Linked DNA regions of Homo sapiens: region 2 is linked to region 1. The links are contacts of gene promoters, found by promoter capture Hi-C in human tissues and cell types (Jung and others, 2019). All regions are on one chromosome and are shown on one strand. The core of a region is centred on a gene start or on the middle of the fragment in contact, and the rest is flanking DNA. Distances in the headings are between cores, read along the strand shown.

The links. Contacts are between HindIII fragments. The study calls those that stand out against the background at their distance.
Region 2: a fragment that was not itself captured here is called in contact with the fragment with the promoter of CPAMD8 in region 1 in 1 of the 25 tissues and cell types used here (thymus).

The regions. Positions count from the first base shown.
Region 1 is chr19:17,025,219-17,028,267 of GRCh38, forward strand. It overlaps CPAMD8 (C3 and PZP like alpha-2-macroglobulin domain containing 8), which reads right to left and starts at 1,592. Exons shown (of 42, transcript NM_015692.5): 1 at 1,333-1,592. The coding sequence starts at 1,424. RefSeq lists an enhancer at 1,764-2,672. The HindIII fragment of the contact is 4,679 bases long and covers 1-3,049 here.
Region 2 is chr19:17,422,247-17,425,295 of GRCh38, forward strand. It overlaps MVB12A (multivesicular body subunit 12A), which reads left to right. Exons shown (of 9, transcript NM_138401.4): 4 at 86-212; 5 at 1,252-1,371; 6 at 1,447-1,553; 7 at 1,760-1,821; 8 at 2,375-2,431; 9 at 2,685-3,049. The coding sequence ends at 2,747. Among named protein-coding and RNA genes, the nearest start is that of MVB12A, 3.7 kb to the left of the region's middle. RefSeq lists an enhancer at 1,607-2,132. The HindIII fragment of the contact is 7,886 bases long and covers 1-3,049 here.

The DNA.
Region 1 (3,049 bases), core at 342-2,841:
TGGCTAACATGGAGAAACCCCATCTCTATTAAAAATACAAAAAATTAGCCGGGTGTGGTGGCACACGCCTGTAATCCCAGCTACTCAGGAGGCTGAGGCAGGAGAGTCATTTGAACCTGGGAGGCGGAGGTTGCAGTAAGCCAAGATCGTGCCATTGCACTCCAGCCTGGGCAACAAGAGTAAAACTCCATCTCAAAACAAAAACAAAAACAAACCCCAAAAACAACAAACAACAAACAAAAACCTCTGTATAAGGCAGGGTCTCTCATTGGAGCCAAGGTCTGTCATGTGGGGCCGCGTCATTCCTTGCAGTGGAAGCTGACCTGCACATCGAAAGCTGTTTACCAGCATTCCTGGCCTGCACCCACTTAATGCCAACACCAAATGCCTCTCCCTATTTGTGACAACCAAAAATACCTCCAGACATTTCCCAGCGGCCTCAGGGAGACAAAAATCCCCCCCAGGGCTGAGAACCACTATTCTAAGGGATGCCAGCTTTGAAAGAAGCATTAGGATGAAAATTTGTAGGGTTCCGATTTCACGAAGCCTAGGAGAGGGAAGTCTGGATGCTCAGAGCGCAGTAGACTGTCTTGCTTTTAAAACTGTGACCAGCAAGGACCAACTACTCACTGCAAATAACGACACCCACCTAGTCTCACTGCTTACCAGTTTTCTGGAAACTCCTAAACAAGGGCTGCTTGAACAAGCCGCCTTCTAAACGCCCAGCTGGACTAAAAGGCTGGTCTTGTGCAGACCAGGGCAGCCCCCCTGAACCCGCAGCCCTGCAGAGCTCACCCGAACTTGCCAGGTTTAGAAATATTCTCTGTGAAGCCAACTTAGCAGTACTCCCCAGCAGTTAGTTAATTCACCTTCTCCCCGCTGTCAACCCACCAGAAGCCTGCAAGCAAACCTCTAGAAAAATGTAGAAGCAAAACAAACACTTCCTCCTCCCTCACCACGCCCACCCACGGGAAAGTGCCCCTTCGCACTCTCCTCCCACTTCTCAGCCAAGACGCTCCTCTTACCTTCATACCTTGGACAACTGGAAATCGCCACCCATGATGACAGCCCGGGTCACACGAAGGGGGCGAGGTGGGGCGGGGGGAGCTGACCTCAGCACCTTTAGCTTTTGGGAGTCCCTGTACCTCCACAGAGCCACTTCGGAAACTTTAGGGCGCCCCCTCCTCAAGACGATTCGGGAACAAGAGGCCAGGTCCAGCCCAGCGCGGAGGCTGTGTGGCCTTGGGCAGGTCGCTGCAACACTCTGAGCCAGTACCCGCGACCCCCACCCCAGAAGGCGACCGACCTCCTCTGTCGCCGGAGGATACTCACGGGGCCTGAGGCTGCGCGGCGCGCACGCCGTCCCGCGCCGACAGCAGCAGGAGCAGGAGCGGGAGCAACGGCCAGAGCAGGGCGCCGCTCATTTTTCGGCTCCTGGGGGGCGCCGCGCCTGGGGAGGGGGCCGGGCCAGGGCTGGGCCAGGGCCAGGGTCCGAGCGCGGCCGTCCTCGCGCCGCCGCCGGGGGCCCTTTGTTCGCAGCCCCCGCGCAGTGCGCCCGGCGCCATGCGCCCCGCTCCGCGCCCGGCCAAGCTGGGGCAGCCCCGGGCCAGCCCCCTCCCCGGACCCGCCTCGTCTCCGGGACCGCCCCGCTCGCCCCGCTCGCCCCGCTCCTGGGCGCACCCTCCCGGGACGCCTGCTCCGCCCATCTCCGGACCCCGACCCGCCCCGATCCCTTCCGGGGATCGTCCCCTCACTTACTCACCGGACCCACCCGGGCCCTGCCCGATTCCTTCCGAACCCGCCTCCTCACCCCCTACCCGGATTCGCCCCCGGATGCCCCCCTCCCCACCAGCCCCGCCTCGGACCCGACCCCCCACCGCCCCCACTCTCCCTCTCCTCTCCACCCAGCGTCCACTCGGAACCTGTCCCTTCCCTGGCCTCTCCCTCCCTCCCTCCCCAGCCAGCCCCTTATGGCCCCCTCCCCGGGCCCGCCCCTCACCAGGGGCCCCTGGGTCTGGACGCCGCCTGCAACCCCGATCCCACAGGCGCCGCCGTGCCCTAAGCCCTGGCCTGTATCTAGTGCCCAGTGCAGTGCGTACAGCCCAAGGAGCAGAGGACCCTTTGGGGAAACAGTCTAGCCAGGGGTCGAACCTCCCAGACTCACATCTGCCCCAGGTCCCTATCTGTGCTCTCTGCTCCCCTCTCCCCCACCCCCACTGTCCACAAATCCCTTGGGCCCGTCCCCTCTCTCGCTGGGCCTCAGAGTCCCCCTTTCCCCTTCATACAGCAGGGGTGGATGGGCACCCCCTTTCTCTCCAAGAGCAGGGTGTCCCCTCCTGCCCCTCCCCGTGTGGCCACCTCAGTGATGGTCCTGCTGTCCTAGGTCCCACTGGCAGGCGGCACATCCTATACCATGTCCAAGTCCTGGACCCCCTCCTTCCAGTGTGGAACCCCCTTCCCCCAGCTACCAACTGCCCTTCTTCTAAAATTCCAGTGCTGACCACACCCCCTCCTGCCCGGAATCCTCGGGGCTCCCTGTTTATTTTACATTTTATTTTTATGTTTTGAGACCAGAGTTTTGCTCTGTTGCCCAGGCAGGAATTTAGTGGTGCAGTCACAGCTCACTGCAGCTTCAGACTCCTGGAGAGTAGCTGGGACTACAGGTGCAAGCCCGCACCCAGCTAATTTTTATATATTTTTTTTTAGAAACGGAGTCGCACTGTGTTGCCCAGGCTGGTCTTGAGCACTGGGCTCAAATGATCCTCCCTCCTCAGCCTCCCAAAGTGCTGGGATTACAGGTGTGAGCCACCACATCCAGCCAGGGCTTCCCGTTTATTGAGACCAAATCTAAACTCTGGCTTTGATGGCAGAGACCTCAGCCTAGTTCCTCCAACACCCTGTTCTTACTCCACTGCCTGCTTCTGCCTAATCTCTGTCTTCCTCTACCTGCCTCCTTTGCCAGTCCAACTCCTGATCCTTCCAGGAAACTCAAGGGAAGCTTCTCTTGCCCCCTCCCTGCCCCTAGGGATGTGGGTCCTCTGGGGGCTTC
Region 2 (3,049 bases), core at 303-2,802, 400 kb after region 1:
TGGCGAGCCTCATCCTAGAGTCATCTTTGGGCCTTCCCACCCCTGCCTGGCTTCCCTCTCTCACTCCCCTACCCCCCACTCCCAGAGGCCTCTGTGTCCAAGAAGAAACGCATGTGTGTGAAGCTGTTGCCCCTGGGAGCCACGGACACGGCTGTGTTTGATGTCCGGCTGAGTGGGAAGACCAAGACAGTGCCTGGATACCTTCGAATAGGGTAGGGCCACCCCCCAGTGTCTAGCCACCTTCCCTGCCCTCCCAACTCATGATCTCACCAATCTGACCCTCAAGGACACCCCTGAGGTCTCCTGTTCCTTCTTCTACCTTCTGAGCCTCAGATTCTGCATGTTAAAACCGGGACATATATATCATCTTGTAGGACTGTCATTAGGAGTCAGTGACTTGGTGTCTAAAGTAGACATAACAGGACTGGGCGCGGTGGCTCACGCCTGTAATCCCAGCACTTTGGGAGGCTGAGGCGGGCCGATCACAAGGTCAGGAGATCGAGACCATCCTGACTAACATGTTGAAACCCCATCTCTACTGAAAATACAAAAAATTAGCCGGGTATGGTGGCACACGCCTGTAGTCCCAGCTACTTGGGAGGCTGAGGCAGGAAAATCACTTGAACCTGGAAGGCGGAGGTTGCAGTGAGTTGAGATCGCGCCACTGCACTCCAGTCTGGGGCGACAGAGCGAGACTCCGTCTCAAAAATAAAATAAAATAAATAAAAATAAAGTAGACAGAACGGTGATTTGAACCCAGCAGTATTAGTTTGGTGTGGTGCTTCGGGTGTGGGTCAAGATGCTGAAACAAAAATCCCCCAAAAGACTGGGCACGGTGGCTCACGCCTGTAGTCCCAGCACTTTGGAAGGCCAAGGCGGGCGGATCACCTGAGGTCAGGAGTTCGAGACCAGCCTGGCCAACATGGTGAAACTCCGTTTCTACTTAAAAAAAAAAAAAAAAAAAAAAAATTAGCTGGGCATGGTTGCCTGTAATCCCAGCTAATCCAGAGGCTGAGGCAGGAGAATCGTTTGAACCTGGGAGGTGGAGATTGCAGTGAGTCTAGATTGCGCCATTGCACTCCAGCCTGGGCAACATGAGCGAAACTCCGTCCCCAAAAAAAAAAAAAAAAAAAATTCCCCCAAAAGACAGAGGTCACCTGCATGCCCGGGTCCCCCGCCTTCTCCAGGGGCTATCCTCAACCCTGGCCCCACACCGGGCCAGCATCCCTCCCACCTTCCCTCCTGGTCCAGGGACATGGGCGGCTTTGCCATCTGGTGCAAGAAGGCCAAGGCCCCGAGGCCAGTGCCCAAGCCCCGAGGTCTCAGCCGGGACATGCAGGGCCTCTCTCTGGATGCAGCCAGCCAGCCAAGGTGAGTCCTCAGGCACCGGAGTGGGGGTGGCCGTTGTGGGAGGATGAGGCTTAACCTGAGTCATCCCACCTCCAGTAAGGGCGGCCTCCTGGAGCGGACAGCGTCAAGGCTGGGCTCTCGGGCATCCACTCTGCGGAGGAATGACTCCATCTACGAGGCCTCCAGCCTCTATGGCATCTCAGGTGAGCACAGAGTGGGGAAACTGAGGCGTGGAAGTGGAGGGTGTGACTGTCTTGAGATTACACAACCAGGAAGGATCTTCCTACTTCCCTCTCCCAACTCTGGATTCTGTAAAGACTGAAGGAGCCAGGCTGTGCGGGTTGGGCCTCTGTGGGTGGGGTGGGCAGTTCCCTACACCTCACCTCCTCCCCTCGCACGTGTTTTTCAGCCATGGATGGGGTTCCCTTCACACTCCACCCACGATTTGAGGGCAAGAGCTGCAGCCCCCTGGTGAGTCGGGGTCTCAGGGAGCCTGGGTCTGCGCCTGCCATCACCATTCTGGGTGCCAGGACATCCCTGTATCCAGTGCCCCAGCACAGAGGGCCACATCCTGGGTTGGGGCTGGAGTGTGTCACCTCCAGGTGGCAGCTGGAAGGTCTTCAGTCTTAGAATGGGGAGGGATCCATCCAGAGAAAGCAGCTGGACACCAGTAGCTAGAGGCTGTGACAAGAAGGGGGAGGGATGCTGGGCATGGTGGCTCACGACTGTGATCCCAGCACTTTGGGAGACCAAGGCAGGTGGATCACTTGAGGCCAGGAGATCGAGACCAGCCTGGCCAACATGGTGAAACCTCGTCTCTATTGAAAATACAAAAATTAGCCAGGCGCGGCTTTAGAGACTTTGTCTCTAAAAACAAAACAAAACAAACAAGAAAAATAAGGGGGAGGGATGTCCGAGGGAATATTCGGGGAGTGTTGGGGGGAGGGCAGGACCCCTTGAAGACGAAGGAAAGGGGGTTTCAGGTTGAGATCGGGCCCAAGGCTGACCCACCTCTGCCCGCCAGGCCTTCTCTGCTTTTGGGGACCTGACCATCAAGTCTCTGGCGGACATTGAGGAGGAGGTGGGTGCAGGGCTAGGGAGGAGGTGGGTGCAGGGCTAGGGAGGAGGTGCCTGAGGGGCCGGCACCCGCCCCTCGTCCGCCCCAGGCTGTCCCAGTTTTCCCCATCCCCGCTTTGCCCCAGACACACACCATCTCTCCAGGGCAGAAGACCACTCAAGTCCCTAAGTACCCACTCTGCCATTCCTCAGTCACTCCCCCTTTGGCCCTCTCTTTACTCTGGCACCTGTTCACTCTCTCTCTCCCCATCCCCCAGTATAACTACGGCTTCGTGGTGGAGAAGACCGCGGCTGCCCGCCTGCCCCCCAGCGTCTCATAGTCCCTCACCCTTCCGCGGAAAGAGCCCCCTTACTCCACCTCCCCGCCAGCCTGGGGCCACCCCCCCTCACTGCATCCTGGGGCCACCCCCACTCACTGCATCCTGGGAACCTTCGCCCTGCAAGGCGTTTGCTATCTTCAGCCACTGGGCGGAGCTGCAGCCCTGGAGGAGGGGGCGGGTCGAGGCTGCGTGGTGATGGGGTCTCCGCCCCCACGCCCTGCCGGGCAGGGCTGGAGCTGGACAGAAGCCAGTGCCTTTAAGTCATTTGTGTCAAAACCCTCTGGGGTCCGGAGGCTGTGCGG